Linked DNA regions of Homo sapiens: all the other regions are linked to region 3. The links are contacts of gene promoters, found by promoter capture Hi-C in human tissues and cell types (Jung and others, 2019). All regions are on one chromosome and are shown on one strand. The core of a region is centred on a gene start or on the middle of the fragment in contact, and the rest is flanking DNA. Distances in the headings are between cores, read along the strand shown.

Evidence for each region. The method cuts DNA at HindIII sites, captures the fragments that hold promoters and counts their contacts. A contact is called where the count stands out against the background at its distance.
Region 1: a contact is called between a fragment that was not itself captured here and the fragment with the promoter of ZNF84 in region 3, in 6 of the 25 tissues and cell types used here (H1 embryonic stem cells, IMR-90 fibroblasts, dorsolateral prefrontal cortex and 3 more).
Region 2: a contact is called between a fragment that was not itself captured here and the fragment with the promoter of ZNF84 in region 3, in 3 of the 25 tissues and cell types used here (dorsolateral prefrontal cortex, hippocampus and spleen).
Region 4: a contact is called between a fragment that was not itself captured here and the fragment with the promoter of ZNF84 in region 3, in 2 of the 25 tissues and cell types used here (IMR-90 fibroblasts and lymphoblastoid cells).
Region 5: a contact is called between a fragment that was not itself captured here and the fragment with the promoter of ZNF84 in region 3, in 2 of the 25 tissues and cell types used here (dorsolateral prefrontal cortex and thymus).
Region 6: a contact is called between a fragment that was not itself captured here and the fragment with the promoter of ZNF84 in region 3, in 11 of the 25 tissues and cell types used here (H1 embryonic stem cells, adrenal gland, dorsolateral prefrontal cortex and 8 more).

The regions. Positions count from the first base shown.
Region 1 is chr12:133,255,024-133,258,564 of GRCh38, forward strand. No RefSeq gene overlaps it. Among named protein-coding and RNA genes, the nearest start is that of ANHX, 21 kb to the left of the region's middle. The HindIII fragment of the contact is 4,704 bases long and covers 1-3,541 here.
Region 2 is chr12:133,178,536-133,182,360 of GRCh38, forward strand. It overlaps ZNF268 (zinc finger protein 268), which reads left to right and starts at 2,960. Exons shown (of 6, transcript NM_003415.3): 1 at 2,960-3,151; 2 at 3,411-3,495. The coding sequence starts at 3,463. RefSeq lists enhancers at 2,678-3,202, 2,798-3,107, 3,148-3,347. The HindIII fragment of the contact is 5,070 bases long and covers 1-3,825 here.
Region 3 is chr12:133,035,346-133,038,939 of GRCh38, forward strand. ZNF84 (zinc finger protein 84) reads left to right here and starts at 2,164. Exons shown (of 5, transcript NM_001289971.2): 1 at 2,164-2,200. ZNF84-DT (ZNF84 divergent transcript) reads right to left here and starts at 1,877. Exons shown (of 3, transcript NR_110091.1): 1 at 1,424-1,877. RefSeq lists an enhancer at 1,781-1,870 and a silencer at 2,091-2,270. The HindIII fragment of the contact is 8,441 bases long and covers 1-3,594 here.
Region 4 is chr12:132,877,822-132,881,252 of GRCh38, forward strand. All of the region lies in intron 2 of CHFR (checkpoint with forkhead and ring finger domains), which reads right to left. Among named protein-coding and RNA genes, the nearest start is that of CHFR, 8.1 kb to the right of the region's middle. The HindIII fragment of the contact is 8,676 bases long and covers 1-3,431 here.
Region 5 is chr12:132,901,422-132,905,309 of GRCh38, forward strand. No RefSeq gene overlaps it. Among named protein-coding and RNA genes, the nearest start is that of CHFR-DT, 16 kb to the left of the region's middle. RefSeq lists an enhancer at 337-506 and a cis regulatory region at 422. The HindIII fragment of the contact is 3,833 bases long and covers 195-3,888 here.
Region 6 is chr12:133,201,061-133,204,713 of GRCh38, forward strand. It overlaps ZNF268 (zinc finger protein 268), which reads left to right. Exons shown (of 6, transcript NM_003415.3): 6 at 1,084-3,653. The coding sequence ends at 3,470. Among named protein-coding and RNA genes, the nearest start is that of ZNF268, 21 kb to the left of the region's middle. The HindIII fragment of the contact is 4,114 bases long and covers 1-3,531 here.

The DNA of each region.
Region 1 (3,541 bases), core at 1,033-3,532, 220 kb after region 3:
ATTGCTTTTCAAAGGCATATCATTGCTTCGTGAGATGTATTTTGAGGTTAAAAGATGCTTTCCTAAGAAACACTAGCTATGGAGTAACTGTCCTGCAGTGAAATGATCTAATAATAATAATAAAAATTGGACTTAATGATTTTGCATCATTCCCACTGACTTTAATCAGACTTCCAAATTATTTTGTGTTATGGAAAATTTCAAACTTGGCATTTGAGAATCAATCTAAAGTTTTTTGTTTTTTGAAAAGTGTGATTTTCTCTAATTTGGTGTTGACTTACATCAGGATTTAGTAAACAGGCCTAAACAAGTTATTCCACAGGGAAAGGTAAAGTGAATCAAAGAGGACATTTAATTGAGTAGTCACCTTGAATCTCAGTGGGTGGGGCTGGTGATATCTGAAAGCTACAGCACTTCATGATCACTCAACAAATCATGTTGGCTGATTTATGCTGTGGAATAGTCAGTGGTCTTCAAATGAGAATGCATGTTGTTGGGGATATGGGAAGACCTTCCAGGGACATGAATAGTTTTAAGGGAGTCATTTTCTAGACTCTCAACTTTCACATGTGTTCATTGGTTAGAGGGAACTGCCTTCAGATGCACTTGGGATGGAGGTGCAGCCTCTGCACACTAACGGCAAATTGAAAATACAAATATTGATCCAGGGAAGTGACTGAGATGACTGAGTGACAAATCCCATGCTGATCAGATAGTTTCCAAGCCTTTTCTTTCAACAAAAGTAATGAGGGTCATTTAGGTATTAGCTCACTGTATTAGTCCATTCTTCCATTGCTATAAAGAACTATCTGAGACTGGGTAATTTATAAAGAAAAAAGGTTTAATTGGTTCATGGTTCACAGGCTGTGCAGGAAGTATGGCTGAGGAGGTCTCAGGAAACTTACAATCATGGTGGAAGGCAAAGAGGAAGGAGACATTCTATGTGGCTGGAGCAGGAGGAAGAGAGAGCAAAGGGGGAAGTGCTACACACTTTTAAATAAGCAGTTCTCATGAGAGCACACTCATGATCACAAGAACAGCAAGGTGGAAGTCTGCCTCTATGATCCAGTCACTTCCCACCAGGTCCCTCTTCCAACACTGAGGACCACAATTTGGCATGAGATTTGGGTGGGGACACAGATCCAATCCGCAGTGTGAATTGCTCAGTGTGAAAGTTACAGTGGAACATTTCAAATGAACAACACTGCATTTGAAGAAGTGCACTTGAAAATGAGGGCTCCTGAATTAGTCTCATCTAGGGATACCTATTGATATGCAGAAGCTTCTAAAAAGATTTCAGTATTTTTATTTAAAGACTCTTTATAAAAAGCAAATAAAAAGCTCAAGTGACTAATTGATAAGAAACATTAAATTTGCTAACCTTTTGGCTTGGTCATCATCCTACCTCGAAGGTGAAAAGAAAGTTATCCTAGATAGAGTGTTTTTAAAAGGTAAGCTCTCAGGTAAAGTAGGTTCTTGCTTCTCTTTCAGATCTCTCCATGCTGAGTCCAGGCATAGAAAGTGCTTTCTTTGCCCTATTCTTTAAGGGCCTCCATCATAAACTCAGTAATTTCAGCTAAGAAACAGTAGCAAAGTTAAAAAAGACCACCTGTCAAACTAAAGTACACCTTTCTGGAATTTAGCTGGCTACCTTTAAATCCTTTTGTGAAATAATTTCACAGTTATAAAGGAAATCTCCATTTTTATGGTGTCTGTGTATGTATATTAGAAACTCTTACCATTTTTTTAAATTCACACAACAAATCATACCTTTGTTTAAAGTTCTTTTCTGGCCATCTTGTCTTAAGTGAACTTTTACTTACACCTTTTTTCCTTTGTTTGACCAAATAATACATTATTTAGGCCTAAAGGCTTAGCTCTGTGCTTATAAAATATAATTTTTTGTTTAAAAAATTAAAAAATTATAAAATTATAAAATTTGTTTAAAAAATTATAATTTTTTGTTTAAAAAATTATAATTTTTTGTTTAAAAAATTATAATTTTTTGTTTAAAAAATTATTATATTTTGTTTAAAAAATTATAAAATATAATTTTTTGCTGGGCAGGGCGCCATGGGTCTATAGTCCCAGTTACTTGGTGAACTGAGGTGGAAGGATTGCTTGAGCCTGGGGAGGTTGAGGCTGCAGGGAGCTGTAAACACAATACTGCACTCCAGCCTGGATGACAGAGTGAGACCCTGTCTCAAAAACACAAAACAAAACAAAAACAAAAACACGACATGCTTTTGATGGGGAAAGTTATGAAGGCATAAAAATGTGTGTTTGCTAAAAAAACTTGTCTAGTTTGAAGTTACTTAAAGGTTTCAAATTGAAGGAGTAAAAAAAGATAAAACTAGATAAATATAGAAAGTTAGGGAAAAGTATAAAACACAAAAGGTTTATAGAGTTTATAGAAATCTTATGTGTTCAAAAGATGACAGACTTGATTTATTTATAAGATTTTATTAAATATTAGCTTTATATGTATAGTGCACTAATACAAAAATAAAATTAGTTTTTCTCTTCTGAACAAAAATTTCATGTAGTGTTAATAAGACAAAGTAAAATATTTTTGTTCACCTTTTGAGTAAACTGCAAAGAGAAAGACAGAGATAAGAGAAAAGAGAAGAGACAGAATTTGTCTCATGCTGTCTGAGATCTTTTGATTGGAAAACTGAGTCTCCTCTCTCAAAGAGTACAGGTTTTTGTTTAAAAAATCCTTTAATTATCACTTTGGCTAAAAGAATGACTATTATTTTATGGTGACCTGTGATCTTATTTTGGTAAAGTGTTTTAAACCTTTGACATATTTGATTGGCTTTCTAAAAATCAAATTTCAACTTCAAAGTTAAGTCTTTTTTCACCTTTTAACTTTGGGATGCTACAAAGGTCCCCTGAAGCATCCAAAAGGGAGATAAACGGATTATTTGACATGTGAAATTACATGGGAAGCATTATCAAACAAGAAAGGATGGCTTAACCTTCTTAAGTTATATCTTAAAGAATATGTTATTAATATATGTTCCAAAGTTATGTGGGATTTCTAAAATCCTAATATGTCTGGGTATATGCTATCAGTCATAATTCTGGTTATTATGTTGAGTTATTGTAAACCACAGAAATAACCAAATTTCCTTTTCAATTGTCTTTATGACCATTTAAATTCATTTCCACAGTTAATTGCTTAATTCTGATGCAGTTTCTTAAAACTTCACAAGCACATAAAATCCTAGAATATGGTGTCTTTAAGGAGATTCATGAAAGGATGGAAAGAACCCTGACACAAGCTCTCAAACACAAGTTTCTAATAACTTTAGGACCACATCGTTTGGATTGGGTAAAAATTCCTGGAACTCTAATGAAGAGACTGGCTGGTTTATAAAACTACTAAGCCAGGCAGGAAAAAAACTAATTGAATACCAAGAAAATATTTTGCCAGATGTTCATGCTAAATCAGCTAGTACTTAAATTGTTAAGATATGCAATTTAAATGAACTCCATGGTCAAAGTCAAATTACCCATGATAATCTATTGGTTATCA
Region 2 (3,825 bases), core at 947-3,446, 140 kb after region 3:
TATGCAGAAGAATGAAACTTGACCCTTATCTCTCGCCATATACAAAAATCAACTCAAGCTGTATTAAAGACTTAAATGGAATACCTGAAACTATAAACATACTAGAAGAAAACCTACGGAAAACCCCTCTGGACATTGGTCTGGGTAAATAATTCATGACTAAGACCTCAAAAGCACATGCAACAAACAGAAAAAGAGAGAAATGGGACTTAAACTAAAAATCTTCTTCATAGTGAAATAAACAGTAAGCAGAGTGAAGAGACACTTGCAGAATGGGAGAAAATTTTTGCAAGCTTTGCATACAAGAGGGGACTAATATCTAGAGTTTACAGGGAACTCAAACAGATCAACAACAACAACGAAACCCAAATAATCCCATTAAGAAGCAGGCAAAGAACACAAATAACACTTTACAAAAGAAGACATACAAATGGCCAACAGGCATATGAAAATATGCTCAACATCATCACTAAACATCAGAGAAATGCAAATTTAAACCACAATGAGGCCGGGCGCTGTGGCTCACGCCTGTAATCCCAGCAGTTTGGGAGGCCGAGGTGAGCAGATCACCTGAGATCAGGAGTTCAAGACCAGTCTGGCTAACATGGCGAAACCACGTCTCTCATAAAAAATACAAAAATTAGCCGGGCATGGTGGTGGGCACCTGTAATCCCAGCTACTTGGGAGGCTGAGGCGGGGAGAATTGCTTGAACCCAGGAGGCGGAGGTTGCAGTGAGCCGAGATCAAGCCACTGCACTCCAGCCTGGGCGACAGAGCGAGGTTGTGGGGGAAAAAAAAGAGATATTATCTTACATCAGTCACAGTAGCTGTTATTAAAAAGACAGGCCGGGCCGGGTGCGGTGGCTCACGCCTGTAATCCCAGCACTTTGGGAGGCCGAGGCGGGCAGATCACGAGATCAGGAGATTAAGACCATCCTGGCTAACACGGCGAAACCCCGTCTCTACTAAAAAATACAAAAAAGTAGCCAGGCGTGGTGGCGGGCCCCTGTAGTCCCAGCTACTTGGGAGGCTGAGGCAGGAGAATGGCGTGAACCCGGGAGGCGGAGCTTGCAGTGAGCCCAGATCGCGCCACTGCACTCCAGCCTGGGCGACAGAGCGAGACTCCGTCTCAAAAGGAAAAAAAAATCAAAACAAACAAAAACAGGCCGAGCTCGGTGGCTCATGCCTGTAATCCCAGCACTTTGGTAAACTGAGGTGACCGGATCACCTAAGGTCGGGAGTTTGCGACCAGCCTGACCAACATGGAGAAACCTGTCTCCACTAAAAATACAAAATTAGCCGGGTGTGGTGGTGCATGCCTGTAATCCCAGCTACTCAGGAGGCTGAGGCAGGAGAATTGCTTGAACCTGGGCGGAGGTTGCGGTGAGCCGAGATCGGGCCACTGCACTCTAGCCTGGGTAACAAGAGCAAAACTCCGTCTCAAAAAATAAAATAAAATAATAAAAATAAAAAGACAAAGAAGATGTTGGTGAGGATGTGGAGAAAAGGAAACTCCTATACACTGTTGGTGAGAAAGTGAAATTAGTATAACCTATGGAAAACAGTGTGGAGAATTCTCAAAGAACTAAAAATAGAATTACCATTTGATAAAGCAATCCTGTTACTGAGTATCTACCCAAAGGAAATCATTATATATATAAAAAAAATACCTGCACTCATATGTTTATCACAGCACTATTCACAATATCACAGGTATGGAATTAACCTAAATGTCCATGAATGGATGAATAAAGAAAATGTGTTATATATACACAATGGAATACTATTCAGCCATAAGAAAGAATGAAATTGTCTTTTGCAGCATCATGGATGGAACTAGTGGCCACTATCTTCAGTGAAACAACTCAGGCACAGAAAGAAAAACACATGTTTTCACTTTAAGTATGAGCTAAAGGATATGTACACATGGATGTAGAGTGTGGGATGATAGACAATGAAGACTCAAAAGGTGTGGGGGGGTTTCAGGGATAATCATAAATTACCTGACTGGTACAATGCATATAACGTACTATAGGGCGTGGATACCTTAAAAGCCTTGACATCACCACTACACAACTGATGCATGTAACAAAATTACACTTGTACCTCATAAATTTATAAAAGTTTTTAAAAGCCAAAAACAAAAGAATTCTAGAAAACTTGTATCTGCCTCTGTGAATGTCACCTCTTCCCAATACTTAAGATCAATAATGATTAGTGGATATTTTCCGTTGGTGCAAAAGTAAGTAATTGCGGCTTTTGCCATTAAAGTAAACCAATATTTTCCAACTGGCCAATACATGATGTTACGAAATCATGCGTGATAAAAGAATCCATTCAAAGTGCAGTGTAGACCAACGGATTTTATGTAATAGAGTAGAAAAAGTTCATCTACGTGGTTTCAGATTGTACACTAACAAAACTATCCCTTGTTCGACTTGTATCTTTATATACTTTAACAAAAACAACATACGCAACAGATTAAACATAGAAGCAGATATGAGAATCCAGCTTTCTAGTAAGTCAGAAAAGACTTAAAAAGCGAAGCCACTCCTTACTAAATTTTTTCTTTTGTAAAATATATGTAATTTTCATTAAAATATTATTTATGTTAACATGTAATGGGAATTTTACGAATCTGTTATTAAAGTGTAAAGCAAAATAAGACTTTTACCATTTCAGTAAAGCAGGGACTAGAACACTTGTAACCTAATTTACATCCCTCCAACCGTTGAGCCATTGGTGTCAAGTATTTTAATTCTCTTTAAAATTTAAAACCTGCAAGCGCGGGAGCTCAGGGACCTGGCCAGGAAGGCCTGAGCTTCCGGGTCATCTTAGCACGCCCCCTCCCGGTGGCCCTTGGCCGGAGCCCTCCGGCGCGGGAGTAACTCCTCGCAGAGGCCTCTGGGAGTTGTAGTTTTTTTGCCTTTGCCTCTCCATGACGCAATTCCTGTGCGACATACGTAGCGGCCGCCATTGTTCCGCGCCGATGGCGAGATCCTTGTTCCTCAGATAGCGTTCATCGCCCGTCGTGGTCAACGGGCCAGCCGAGTCTGGAGTGGTTGCGAACCCTTCTGGCTGCAGATCTGGAGGTGGAGGCAGTACCCTGGACTCTATTCTGCTGCCCCTTCAGGGTTTGGAGGAGCCGGAGGTGCGGAATTCCTCCGGTTTCAAGGCGGCGGGACGGGACAGAACTAATCTGCCTTAGCTCTCTCCTGCTGCTGACCCGGGGCGGTTGCCTGACCCTAACCTGTGTGTTGGTGAGGGTGTGGAGATGGTGAATCCCGTGCTGTGGGAGGGAAGGAGCCTCAGCTCCGAGAATGGCAGGCAGCCCTGGTGCCTCGGACCCTCCCCCTCTGGGTTTGGGGACTGCTGGGTGACCTCTTTCTTCACTGTGCTCTCTCTTCTAGCATCCCTCGCGTCCTGTCACTTCCAGCGAGGCACACAAAACTGACCGTAGGGATGGCCACCAGGGTCCGGACAGCTTCTATTTGGGTGAGTAGGGGTTTTCTTTCATTCTTGAAAAGCTCTCCCTGAATGCCAACGTGTGCGCACTCCATCTACTCCAGTCTGAATTTGCCAGGAGCTTTCTCACCCCACCGCTCTTTTAGGCAACTGGATCGTCATTTATAGCATGTTAGACTTTCCAGAAATGCTTCTTGTCATCCGACTTCCTTTTTTCCTCCTTTCATCAATCTCTTTTCTAACAACTTTGTACGCTGAACTTTGGAGTTAAACAAGGGATACTCACACATCTTTCAGTTTTTTCAGCCTTTATTTACTGAGGGCCTTCTGTATCTGGGATCTTTAAACCTTATTTTGGAA
Region 3 (3,594 bases), core at 914-3,413:
CTAGATTCTGGTGAGGGATTGTCTCAAAAAAAAAAAAAAAGAAGAAGAAGAAGTTGTGAAACCATGCCCCCAAATAGTTAAAGAAACCAGTGACTAACGAATTTTTTTTTTTTGAGATGGAGTCTCGCTCTTGTCGCCCAGGCTGGAGTGCAGTGGCGCGATGTCGGCTCGCTGCAATCTCCACCTCCCAGGTTCAAGCGATTCTCCTGCCTCAGCCTCCCGAGGAGCTGGGATTACAGGTGTGCACCACCACGCCCAGCTAATTTTTGTATTTTTAGTAGAGACAGGGTTTCACCATGTTGGCCAGGCTGGTCTCGAACTCCTGACCTCAGGTGATCTGCCCGCCTCGGCCTCCCAAAGTGCTAGGATTATAGGCGTGAGCCACCGCGTCCGGCTAACAGAAATTCTTGAGCTTACAGGATGGCAGATAAGAAACAGTTTGCTGAAACTCCGTTTGTAATATAATACAACTGGCTGAAATCAGTTGAAACCAATATAACCAAACGGAGTCCATGCAGAATGAGCTTGCTGATGTCGCAGCCTGAATTTCCACTGCACTTTTCACACTAACTCTACCTTAATTTGCACATGGGACCCAAGAAGAGGCTTGAAGAGACAACTGCACATGGTCGGGGACTTTCCAGACTTCCTTTTTCCTTCACCATTCACCTGTGAATCCCAGAATCCACCCTCTAAACCTTTTTTCACAATAGTGCTGCCTTAAGGGCAGCACAGAGAGATAGATTTGAACTAAACTCCTGTCACTTTGTTGGTCAACTCGCAATTAAGCTTTTCTTTTCTCAAACGCCTGGTGCCATAGTATTGGCTTCTGTGCACATCGGGCAATGAGGTCTTTTGCGTAGCAGTATTTGGATATCCGGTTTCCTCACGCTATTTATTGAAGCGACTGTCCTTTCCCCATCGTGTATTCTTGACACAAGATTAGTTGACTTGCCTAAGATTAGTTGACTGTATATGCATGGGGTTATTTCTGGTTTTTCTACGCTGTTCCACATTGGTCCATGCGTCTGTTTTTATGCTAGTACTTCACTGGTGAGTTCTACCTCTGGGAATAAATATAAGAATTCTCTAATCACTGGATGTTTGAAGCAATTCACTAAGCAACTCATTATGATGCTTTCTGGCAAAGGATCTCTGAATTTGTCTTCAAATTGTGGATAAAATTGGGTCAAATTTGGCCCATGTTGTCCTGGAGAATCATTTGTGTCACAAATTATCAAATTTATTAGTATAGAGCGGATTTTCATTCAATTTCCTATGTGTCTATGGTTATTTCTCTTTTTTCATCTCTCTCCTCCATCTCCCCGGCCCCATCTTGCTGTCATAAGCATCGTGACTTACCTATAATTCTCCCTACGACTCCAGTTATGGATCAACTTTACTTTTTTCTGTTAATTCTTACCTTCTTTCCATAAATATATTTAAATTTTTTCTGGTTTCCTCAACTGAAGTCAAACCAATTGAGTATTGGTGGGCCGGGCGCGGTGGCTCACGCCTGTAATCCTAGCACTTTGGGAGGCCAAGGCGGGCGGATTGCCTGAGCTCAGGAGTTCGCGACCAGCCTGGGCAACACGGTGACTCCCCGTCTCTACTAAAATACAAAAAAATTAGCCGGGCGTGGCGGCGGGCGCCTGTAGTCCCAGCTACTCGGGAGGCTGAGGCAGAAGAATGGCGTCAACCCGGGAGGCGGAGTTTGCAGTGAGCCGAGATCACGCCACTGCACTCCAGCCTGGGTGACAGAGCGAGACGCCGTCTCAAGAAAATATATATATATATTGGTGGATTCGGTTTCCCTTTATGTTTCTCAGAAAACCGTGTGAGCCCGTTTGGAGTCACTCCGTCTCCAAGCGACAGGCACTTCCGGACGCGGGGCACTGTGGGAAGTTGAGTTCGCGGGGCTCCTTCCTTCGCGCATGCGCACATGCACTCTTGGTAATGCTTGCAGGTGGCCCGTTCTTCCTCTTTGTCCTTCGCTGCCACGTGAGAGGGGAGTGTACGCGTGTGCGCGCGTGCGAGTGTGCGCGTGTGCAGTCCCCGACTCGTCCCGGCCCGTTCGGAGCCGCCCGGGAGCGCACAAAGGCCGACGGTTTGGGCGCGTGCGCGGGACACGGGGGACGGGCGGTGTCACGTGATCGCGAGGCCGCGGGCGCGCGGGCGCGACTCGGCGGCGGCGTCTTTTGTGAGTTCAGTGAGTTTATTGCGGGCCCGGCGCTGGGGGCTCCGGGAATGGCGGGGGAGGCGCGCGGGAGTGGCCGCGGGGAGCTTCGGCTTCAAGGCCCTGGGCGTCCGCGCGCGGATGCGGGTCTGGGGCGGGTTGGGGCTGGGCCGGGTCGTGAAGATGCCGTGGGCCGCGGAGCTGCGCGGATTCTGGGCTGTGGGGCGGGCACGGCCTTTCCGGAGGCGCCGCTCCTGGGCGTCCTTTCAGGCGGGCGTGGAGGCGCCAGCCTCGGGCGCGTTTAGCCTCGGGCGCGTTTAGCCTCGACCTCGGGCCAGCCCGCTTGCCGCGCCGTGGCCCTAAGGAGCGGCTGCCCTGCTGGACCGCATCCACCAGCAGCCTGGCTCTGCCGCTATCGAAGGAGGCTTTTAAAGCGCTGGGGTTACAGGTGTGAGCCACCATTCCTGGCCGTGTATTTTTTAATGGTTATATTTATTGACTGTTTTAAATTTTTTAAGTGACTTTTGCTTTTGGTATGGTGTAGCGAAATCTCCCCTCAAATTATACATATATTCATTCACCTGTGGTTTTTTTTTGTAGACATTCTTAGGGTTTCCATTATTTTAAAATTTAACCCACTGAAAGTAGTTGTATGAAATAGCTACGTTTATTTTCTTTCAAATATTCTTGTATTCATTAAATAATTTAATTTTACTGATGGCTTTGAAATGCTACATTTATTGCATGCTGACTCTTGCATATTTAGACAGTTTGCTTTTTTTCATCTGTATAACTTCTCTGGAGCCAGTGTCAAATGTTATAATGATTATAATTTGTATGTATTACAGTGGGCCTGTTCACACTCATTATTTTGTATTTCCAAAAGCATCCAGGCCCGGTGTGGTAGGGCATGCCTGTAGCCCCAGCTACTCTGTAGGTTGAGGTAGGAGGATCACTTGAGCCCAGGAGTTCAGGGCTGCAGTGAGCTATGGTTATGCCATTGCACTTCAGCCTGGACAACACAGTAAGACCCTGTCAAAAAAAAAAAAAAAGTGTCCGAATTGTTCTTGAACCTTTTTTCTTACACATAAACTTTAGAATTTTGAGATTCTGATTGGAGTCGATGAGTTATATAAATCATTTGAGGTCAAATTATCTTCACAATCTGAAGTCTTCCTATCCCAGAATAAAATCGAATTATAAATTTCTTTAATTCTATTTTTATAGTTCTCATTGGTGTTTTTAGTATGCTTCATATGGGTCTTGATATTCCTACATATTTTATGTATTTTGTCAATTATGAGTCGGATTTTATTTTTTTGTTATTTTATGTGAGTTGTTTATATCTTACAGAAATAAGGTTATTGACCTGGAAAGATGTTCTTCACATAATGGGAAAAAAACAAAAACAGCTTTTA
Region 4 (3,431 bases), core at 522-3,021, 160 kb before region 3:
AGACGGAGTCTCGCTCTGTCGCCCAGGCTGGAGTGCAGTGGCACCATCTCGGCTCACTGCAAGCTCCGCCTCCCAGGTTCACACCATTCTCCTGCCTCAGCCTCCAGAGTAGCTGGGACTGCAGGCGCCCGCCATCACGCCTGGCTAATTTTTTGTGTTTTTAGTAGAGACGGGGTTTCACCATGTTAGCCAGGATGGTCTCGATCTTTTGACCTCATGATCTGCCCACCTTGGCCTCCCAAAGTGCTGAGATTACAGGCGTGAGCCACCGCGCCCGGCCCATCCTGAACCTTTCTGAATCCCCACCCTCTCAAAGACACCCATCAATACCTCCAGTTACACACAGCCTCTTAAATGGCAATTTTACAGCCAGGCGCAGTGGCTCATACTTGTAAACCCAGCACTTTGAGAAGCTGAGGTGAATGGATCACGAGGTCAGGAGTTCGAGACCAGCCTGGCCAACACAGTGAAACCCCATATCTACTAAAAATACAAAAATTAGCTGGGCATGGTGGCGGTTGCCTATAATCCCAGCTACTTGGGAGGCTGAGGCAGGAGAATCGCATGAACCCAGGAGGCAGAGGTTGCAGTGAGCTGAGATCGCGCCACTGCACTCCAGCCTTGGCGACAGAGCTAGACTCCAACTGGAAATAAAAAAAAAAAAAAGCAATTTTACAATATGCTTGCATACACAGCTAACCTGATGAGTATTATTAGAACTTTAAAAAAACTCAGGGGGTTGGCTAGGTCCGGTGGCTCACACCGAGGCGGGCAGATCACAAGGTCAGGAGATCGAGACCATCCTGGCTAACACAGTGAAACCCCATCTCTACTAAAAATACAAAAAATTAGCCGGGCGTGGTGGCGGGCGCCTTGTAATCCCAGCTACTCAGGAGGATGAGGCAGGAGAATGGCGAGAACCCGGGAGGAGGAGCTTGCAGTGAGCCGATATGGCGCCACTGCACTCCAGCCTGGGTGACAGAGCAAGACTCTGTCTCAAAAAAAAAAAAAGAAAAAAAAAAACTCAGGGGCTTAAGTAATTCTTCAGTATCTTAATTTAGTCCTTAATTTCTTTTCTGTGTAAACTTAGGTTTCATAAATCAACATAAAATTGAAGCAATGACAGTCACAGAAAAAGTGACTGAGCCAACTGTGATAGGCATTTGTTTTTTTTTTTGTTTTTGTTTGTTTTTTTTTTTTTGAGATGGAGTCTCGCACTGTCGCCCAGGCTGGAGTGCAGTGGCACCATCTCGGCTCACCACAACCTCCACCTCCCAGGTTCAAGCCATTCTCCTGCCTCAGCCTCCTGAGCAGCTGGGACTACAGGCATGCGCCACCATACCCAGCTAATTTTTTGTATTTTTAGTAGAGACGGGGTTTCACCATGCTGGTCTTGAACTCCTGACCTCTTGATCCACCCGCCTCAGCCTCCCAAAGTGTTGGGATTACAGGCTTGAGCCACCGCACCTGGCCTGCGATAGGCATTTGTACACGTATAAGAAACTGCATCTTATATACAGGGATGCATCTATAGCTGAATACAGTAATTCTGACACTTTGGGATTTTTTTTTTCTTTTTTTTTTTTTGAGACGGAGTCTCTTTCTGTGGCCCAGGCTGGAGTGCAGTGGCACGATCTCAGCTCACTGCAACCTCTGCCTCCCGGGTTCAAGCGATTCTCCTGCCTCAGCCTCCTGAGTAGCTGGGATTACAGGCGCACACCACCAGGGCCAGTTAATTTTTGTATTTTTAGTAGAGATGAGGTTTCACAATGTTGGCCAGGATGGTCTCGATCTCTTGACCTCGTGATATGCCCGCCTCGGCTTCTCAAAGTGCTGGGATTACAGGCGTGAGCCACCAGCGCCCGGCCCTGAATACAAAAGCAAGAGGGAAAATCCTCAATACTTGCCCTCTCCTTAAATCAAAAGAACAAAGGCGTTTTAATATCTCATCATTAATCATTACTGCCTATAATAATCTATAAGGATACATAAAGATACTAGAAGACAAAAAAGCGAAGGGTTTGGTCAGGAGACAGTGGCATGCAAACATACTTTTCCTAAACGTTCCACACAGAAAGACACCCTGAATCTGCTTTAGCCTGAGCCTTGCTCCCATCACTGACCTATGGGTGTGTGAATCAGAAGACTCAGTATTGTTAAAATGTCAGCTGTCCTCCAGATTGTTTCATACATTCAATGCAATTCCAGTCAAAATCCCAGAGGGCTTGTAGACACTGACAAGCTGATTCTAAAGTTCACAGAAAAAACGTGTAGAAAAACCAAAGCAATTTTGAAAAAGAATGAAGCTGGAAGACTCATATTACTTAACTGACTTACCATCATGCTATAGTAAACAATACAGTATTGTGGCTGTGTAAGGATGGCCAGACAGAGACAAATGTAAAATCTAAAACTATGAAACTTCCAGTGGAAAAGACAGGCAAAAATCTTAGTGCCGTTGGGTCTTGCATGGACTTCGCAGATAGGATATAAAAAGCACAAACCAGGAAAAAATAATAATAATAAGCTGAGGTTTGTCAAAAGTAAAATGTGGGCCAGGTGCCGTGGCTCACACCTGTAATCCCAGCACTTTGGGAGGCCAAGGGGGGGGCGGATCACAAGGTCAGGAGATCGAGACCATCCTGGCTAACATGGTGAAACCACGTCTCTACCAAAACTACAAAAAATTAGCTGGGCGTGATGGCGGGCGCCTGTAGTCCCAGCTACTCAGGAGGCTGAGGCAGAAGAATGGCGTGAACCCAGGAGGTGGAGCTTGCAGTGAGCCAAGATGGTGCCACTGCACTCCAGCCTGGGCAACAGAGCAAGACTCCGACTCAAAAAAAGAAAAAAAAAGTCAATTCTGGGCCAGGCGTGGTGGCTCACACCTGTAATCTCAGCACGTTGGGAGGCCGAGGCGGGCGGATCACAAGGTCAGGAGTTCAAGACCAGCCTGACCAACATGGTGAAACCCAGTCTCTACTAAAAATACAAAACTTAGCCAGGCATGGTGGCGGGCGCCTATAATCCCAGCTACACGGGAGGCTAAGGCAGGAGAATGGTGGGAACCCAGGAAGCGGAGGTTACAGTGAGCCGAGATCACGCCACTGCACTCCAGCCTGGGCGACAGAGCGAGACTCTGGCTCAACAACAACAAAAAAAGTAAGGCTGGGGGCGGTGGTTCACGCCTATAATCCCATCACTTTGGGTGGCCAAGGCGGGCGGATCACTTCAGACCAGGACTTCGAGACCAGCCTGGCCAACAGGATGAGACCCCATCTCGACTAAAAATACAAAAAATTAGCCGGGCATGGTAGCATGCACCTGTAATCCCAGCTACTTGAGAGGCTGAGGTGGGAGAACATGGGAGGTGGAGGTTGCAGTGAGCTGAGATCGTGCCACTGCACTCCAGCCTGGCAACAGAGCGAGACTCC
Region 5 (3,888 bases), core at 861-3,360, 130 kb before region 3:
CTTAAGTGAAAATGAAGTGAGCTAATAAGTACATTTTTAAAAGATTACTGATGGGCTGGGTGCGGTGGCTCATGCCTGTAATCCCAGCACTTTGGGAGGCTGGGATGGGCAGATCACAAGGTCAGGAGATCAAGACCATCCTGCCCGACCTGATGAAACCTTGTCTCTACTAAAAAATACAAAAATTAGCCAGATGTGGCAGCGCACTCCTGTAGTCCTAGCTACTCGGGAGGCTGAGGCAGGAGAATTGCTTGAACCCGGGAGGCGCAGGCTGCAGTGAGCCGAGATCGGCCACTGCACTCCAGCCTGGGTACAGAGCGAGAGACTCTGTCTCAAAAAAAAAAAAAAAAAGATTACTGAGGAATTTGCTTCTATTAAAACCAGAAAAGTAAAATTACCTTTTACATTTTCTTTTTTTTTTTTTTTGAGACAGAGTTTCGCTACTGTTGCCCAGGCTGGAGTGCAGTGGCGCAATCTCGGCTCACCACAACCTCCACCTCCCTGGTTCAAGCGATTCTCCTGCCTTAGCATCCCCAGTAGCTCGGATTACAGGCATGTGCCACCACACCCAGTTAATTTTATATTTTTAGTAGAGACAGGGTTTCTCCATGTTGGCCAGGCTGGGCTCGAACTCCTGACCTCAGGTGATCTGCCTGCCTTGGCCTCCCAAACTGCTGGGATTACAGGCATGAGCCACCGTGCCCAGCCCTTTTTTTTTTTTTTTTGAGATGGAGTCTTGCTCTGTTGCCCAGGCTGGAGTGCAGTGGCATGATCTCGGCTCACTGCAACCTCTTCCGCTTCCCAGTTTCAAGCAACTCTCCTGTCTCAGCCTCCTGAGTAGCTGGGATTACAGGCATGCACCACCACACCCGGCTAATTTTTGTATTCTGGTCTCGAACTCCTGACCTTAGGTGATCTGCCTGCCTCAGCTTCCCAGAGTGCTAGGATTTTCCTTTTTTTTTTTTTTTTTTTTTTGTAAGTGAAAGCAAGTTTATTAGAGATGTAAAGAAACAAAAGAATAGCTACTCCACAGGCAGAGCAGCCTATATTTTCCTTTTGATATGAACTTTTTTTTTTTTTTTGAGATGGAGTCTCATTCTATTGCCCAGGCTGGAGTGCAGTGGCGGGATCTGGGATCACTGCAACCTCTGCCTCCCGGGTTCAAGCGATTCTCCTGCCTCAGCCTCCCTAGTAGCTGGGACTACTGGCATGCACCACCATACCCAGCTGCTTTTTTTTGTATTTTTAGTAGAGACAGGGTTTCACCATGTTGGCCAGGCTGGTCTTGAACTCCTGACCTCAGGTGATCTGCCTGCCTTGGCCTCCCAAAGTGCTGGGATTACTGGTGTGAGCCACTGTGCCCAGCCGCTATGAACTATTTTAAGTGGAAATAATGATTTTTATTCTATTTTATTATTTTTTATTTTGAGACAGAGTCTTGCTCTGTTGCCCAGGCTGGAGTGCAATGGCGCAATCTCGGCTGACTGCAACCTCTGCCTTCTGGGTTTAAGCAATTCTCCTGCCTCAGCCTCCCGAGTAGCTGGGACTACAGGCGCGTGCCACCACGCCCGGCTAATTTTTGTATTTTTAGTAGGGACGGGGTTTCACCGTGTTAGCCAGGATGGTCTCGATCTAATGACCGTGTGATCTGCCCACCTCAGCCTCCCAAAATGCTGGGATTACAGGCATGAGCCACTGCACCTGGCCTAATGTTTTGAGTTTTAATACATGTACTTTGCAAAACTTTCTTCTTTACAACTACTTTAACCCTGTAGGGAAAATAAGACAGGAAGAAATGAATAAAGCACATCCACAGGAGTGCTCATTTTCCTTCTCCCAGACTCCCCAAGCTGTAGGCACGAACACTGTTCTCTGCAAGTCTCACCTGGGCCACGCACTTCTCTGGACTTGCATGGATTTCCTCCCAGAACAATCCTGATTAAGGAAACACCAGGTGCTCTCTGTTTCCCGCTGCCAACCCCTCTGTGAAGGGAAATGCCTAAAACAGATCTCACTCCGAGATCTTTACTTTCCAGAGAAAGTAAAGAATAACGCATGGGAACATTCCAGAACATGAGGGAATCTCTGCTTATGAATTTAAGGAAAGTGTCTCTGGTGGACGTGGAGAAAAGGGAACCCTCATACACGGTTGGAAGGAATGTAAATTAGTACAACCACTACCGAGAACTGTTTGGAGGTACCTCAGAAAACTAAAAATTGAGCTACCACAAGCTCCAGCAATCCCTGATGGCTAGATACCGGAAAGGGAATCAGCATGTCTAAGAGATGTCTGCACTGCCATGTTTGCTGCAGCACTGTTCACAACAGCCAAGATTTGGAAGCAACCTAAATGTCCATCAACAGATGAATGGATAAGAAAATGCGGCGCCTGTAATCCCAGTACTTTGGGAGGCCCAGGCGGGCGGATCATGAGGTCAGGAGATCGAGACCATCCTGGCTGACACGGTGAAACCCCCGTCTCTACTAAAAATACAAAAAATTAGCCGGGCGTGGTGGCGGGCGCCTGCAGTCCCAGCTACTGGAGAGGCTGAGACAGGAGAATGGCGTGAACCCGGGAGGTGGAGGTTGCAATGAGCTGAGATCGCGCCACTGCACTCCAGCCTGGGCAACAGAGCGAGACTCCGTCTCAAAAAAAAAAAAAAAAAAAGAAAGAAAGAAAGAAAATGCGGCGCATGGCGGGGCACAGCGGCTCATGCCTGTAATCTCAGCACTTTGGGAGGCCGAGGCGGATGGATCACAAGGTCAGGAGTTCAAGACCAGCCTGGCCAAGATGGTGAAACCCCATCTCTACTACAAATACAAAAATTAGCTGGGCGTGGTGGCGGGAGCCTGTAATCCCAGCTACCCTGGAGGCTGAGGCAGGAGAATCGCTTGAACCCGGGAGGCGGCGGTTGCAGTGAGCCGAAACCACCTCCAGCCTGGGCGACAGAAACAGACTCTGTCTCAGAGAAAAAAAAAAAAAAAGCGAAAAAACGTTATTTATTTATTTATTTATTTAGAGACGGAGTCTTGCTCAAGTTGCCCAGGCTGGAGTGCAATGGCACGATCTCGGCTCACTGCAACCTCGGCCACCCAGGTTCAAGCAATTCCCCTGCCTCAGCCTCCTGAGTAGCTGGGATTACAGGCGCGCGGCACCACGCCCGGCTAATTTTTGTATTTTTAGTAGAGACTGGATTTCACCTTGTTGGCCAGGCTGGTCTGGATATCCTGACCTCATGATCTACCCGCCTCGGCCTCCCAAAGTGCTGGGATTACAGGCGAGAGCCACCGCGCCCGGCCTATAAAAACATTTTTAAAAAAGGACAATGACTCTAGAGATTCCCCGGCAGAGTTCCTCTGGGAAGCTTTTCCTCACCGAAGACGCGGCCTCAAGTCATCCCCAAGCCGGGGCTCCTGGGTGGCTTCTCAGGAAGCCAAGCTCCCTCACCCTGTGGCGACGCCGCGGGCGGAATGCGCATGCGCGCCACGAGCCACAATCGTAGGGTTGGGCGCGCCCTGCCGGCCACCAGGGGCAGCGCAGGAGCTGAGCGCACCCCATCAGCGAAAGAAGCGCGCCTCCCCGCTCTTTTCTGAACCGTATCTCCTAAACTATAATTTTGGAGATCAAAAGTGCGGTGGAGCCTCCTCTTCTGTGGCTTGATAGGAGTGGGGGAGGTAACAAGAAGCAAAAGTACAAAGCCAATATATTAAAGTCAACTGAAACTGGAAAACTTTAAAGGCCTACCGTTTGCAATAAAACAACAAAAAGAAATCCTTGGATACAACAAATCCAAGAAATCCTTGCTCTAACAAAATATGAAACCATCTGTATCCAGAAAACTATGAAACACTATTAAAAGAAAACGTAGGCCGGCGCAGTGGCTCACA
Region 6 (3,653 bases), core at 225-2,724, 170 kb after region 3:
AATCATGCAAGTATACAGTGATTTATTTTTGTTTCTAAATTTGTATTTTTTCTGTAGTTAATTTTTTGCTAATTTAATTTTGTTACCATTAATGTTTTCATCATGTATTCAATTCCAGACTCTCCTTTCAGTATCTGAATATTCTTGGCTGATACTTTCAGCCAAATTATTAATTGTATTCCTTTTTTCTTCCTAGTGATATTGACTGCTAAGTTTTTCTGACTTGCTTCAGAGTAGCTTAGTTTTTTTAAGGCCTGCTGTGCAATTTTTATCCTGGGATCTCCTCTTTGATTTTATTTTCTATATCCTCTGTCATTTCTTTTCTTGGAGCAACTCAAGAGTAGCTTCCTGGAAAAGGGTGATACAAACATTGAGACCTGTGCATCTGAAAATGTTTTGACTTTATTCCTCATTGCTCTATTTTCTGTCCTCTAGTTTTCCTAAAGAGAAGTCTGATGGCATTCTAATTTTTGTTACATTGTAGAAAGCTTTGTTTTTGTTTCAGTTTTGATTTCTCTGGATGGTTTTAAGAACTGCTTCTTGTCCTGTTAAGGAATGATGTTCCCTCTCAGTTTATTTTTATCCATTTACTAGGTATTGAGATGTTATTCCCAGGAGGACTGGGAAGTAATCTGCATTGTTCTCTGCCATTTCTCTAGAAGTTAGCATAGTGTTTGGCACATAGTAGGTATTTAATTATTTTTTGAATAAATCTAATGTTCATAGATCCCTAATGACATGTTTATATTATCTTCATTGTTCCTTTTGCCTATTTTGCCTTCTTTATCCAATATGCAAAACTTTTAAACTTCTTATCAGTTTACTATGCCTATCTTCAGTTTGGTTTTTCTTTTTCTCAGTACCCAGTAGTTTGAGTGTTTTTATACCTGAGAATTTATTTATATTCAGATCTGATATCTGAAACTAAAAACCTCATGATATGGCATTTCACAGGGAACTTTCTAGTATACCACAATCATGTGATTTATAACATGTGACTAATTGTTCTTATTTCATAGGCAACTTTCTAGTATACCGCAATCATGTGATTTATAACATGTGACCAATTGTTCTCATTTCTAGACACAGTCTGGAAAATTGATGATCTTATGGATTGGCATCAGGAAAATAAAGACAAGCTGGGAAGTACGGCAAAAAGCTTTGAATGCACTACATTTGGAAAACTATGTCTTCTTAGTACAAAGTATCTTTCAAGACAAAAACCTCATAAATGTGGCACGCATGGAAAGAGTTTGAAATATATAGATTTCACTAGTGATTATGCTAGAAATAATCCTAATGGGTTTCAGGTACATGGAAAATCATTCTTCCATTCTAAACATGAGCAAACTGTTATTGGAATAAAATACTGTGAAAGTATTGAATCTGGAAAAACCGTCAATAAGAAATCGCAACTTATGTGCCAACAAATGTATATGGGCGAAAAACCCTTTGGATGCAGCTGTTGTGAGAAAGCCTTCAGCAGCAAGTCATACCTTCTAGTGCATCAGCAAACTCATGCCGAAGAGAAACCCTATGGTTGTAATGAATGTGGGAAAGACTTCAGTAGTAAATCATACCTCATTGTACATCAGAGAATTCATACAGGAGAGAAACTACATGAATGCAGTGAATGCAGGAAAACATTCAGTTTCCATTCACAGCTTGTTATACATCAGAGAATTCACACAGGTGAGAATCCCTATGAGTGCTGTGAATGTGGGAAAGTCTTCAGTAGGAAAGACCAGCTTGTTTCACACCAGAAAACTCATTCAGGACAGAAACCATATGTGTGTAATGAATGTGGGAAAGCTTTTGGTTTAAAATCACAGCTCATTATACATGAAAGAATTCATACAGGAGAGAAACCATATGAATGCAATGAATGTCAGAAAGCCTTTAATACAAAGTCAAACCTTATGGTACATCAGAGAACCCATACAGGGGAGAAACCTTATGTTTGTAGTGATTGTGGAAAAGCCTTTACATTCAAGTCACAGCTCATTGTACATCAGGGGATTCACACAGGAGTAAAGCCCTATGGGTGTATTCAGTGTGGTAAAGGATTCAGTTTGAAATCACAGCTCATTGTACATCAGAGAAGTCACACAGGAATGAAACCTTATGTATGCAATGAATGTGGCAAAGCCTTCAGGAGCAAGTCATACCTTATTATACATACAAGGACTCATACAGGAGAAAAACTCCATGAATGCAACAATTGTGGGAAAGCCTTCAGTTTTAAATCACAGCTCATTATACATCAGAGGATTCATACAGGAGAGAACCCCTATGAATGCCATGAATGTGGGAAAGCCTTCAGTCGGAAATACCAGCTTATTTCACACCAGAGAACTCATGCAGGAGAGAAGCCTTATGAATGCACCGACTGTGGAAAGGCTTTTGGTTTAAAGTCACAGCTTATTATACACCAGAGAACTCATACAGGGGAGAAACCATTTGAATGTAGTGAGTGTCAGAAAGCCTTTAATACAAAGTCAAACCTGATTGTACATCAGAGAACTCATACAGGAGAGAAACCCTATAGTTGTAATGAATGTGGAAAAGCCTTTACGTTCAAATCACAGCTCATTGTACATAAAGGAGTGCACACTGGAGTAAAACCCTATGGATGCAGTCAATGTGCAAAAACCTTTAGTTTGAAGTCCCAGCTCATTGTACATCAGAGAAGTCACACAGGAGTAAAACCATATGGATGCAGTGAGTGTGGGAAAGCCTTCAGGAGCAAGTCATACCTTATTATACATATGAGAACTCATACAGGAGAGAAACCACATGAGTGCAGGGAATGCGGGAAATCCTTTAGTTTCAATTCACAACTCATTGTGCATCAGAGAATTCACACAGGAGAAAATCCCTATGAATGCAGTGAATGTGGGAAAGCCTTTAATAGGAAAGACCAGCTCATTTCACATCAGCGAACTCATGCAGGGGAAAAGCCTTATGGGTGCAGTGAATGTGGGAAAGCTTTTAGCAGCAAGTCATACCTAATTATACACATGAGAACTCATTCAGGTGAAAAACCATATGAATGTAATGAATGTGGGAAAGCCTTCATTTGGAAATCACTACTCATTGTACATGAGCGAACTCATGCAGGGGTCAACCCTTATAAATGCAGTCAATGTGAGAAATCCTTCAGTGGGAAATTACGCCTTCTTGTACACCAGAGAATGCACACAAGAGAGAAACCATATGAATGCAGTGAGTGTGGAAAAGCCTTCATTAGGAATTCTCAACTCATTGTACATCAAAGAACTCATTCAGGAGAGAAACCCTATGGGTGCAATGAATGTGGGAAAACCTTCTCTCAAAAATCAATTCTCAGTGCACATCAGAGAACACATACAGGAGAGAAGCCTTGTAAGTGCACTGAATGTGGGAAAGCCTTTTGTTGGAAGTCACAGCTCATTATGCATCAGAGAACTCATGTAGATGACAAACATTGATAATTTTACGAAACTCTGAAAAGTGGATTCACAAGAGATAGAAACAATCATATATAAAGAGAAACTCTGTAAGTGGAATCATCTTGTCATCTTCCAGAAAACTCATACTGAATAGAAACTTTATGAATGCACAGCATATGGAAAGGCATCCACAGAAAGCTGTTCTTTACATGCAAAAAGATA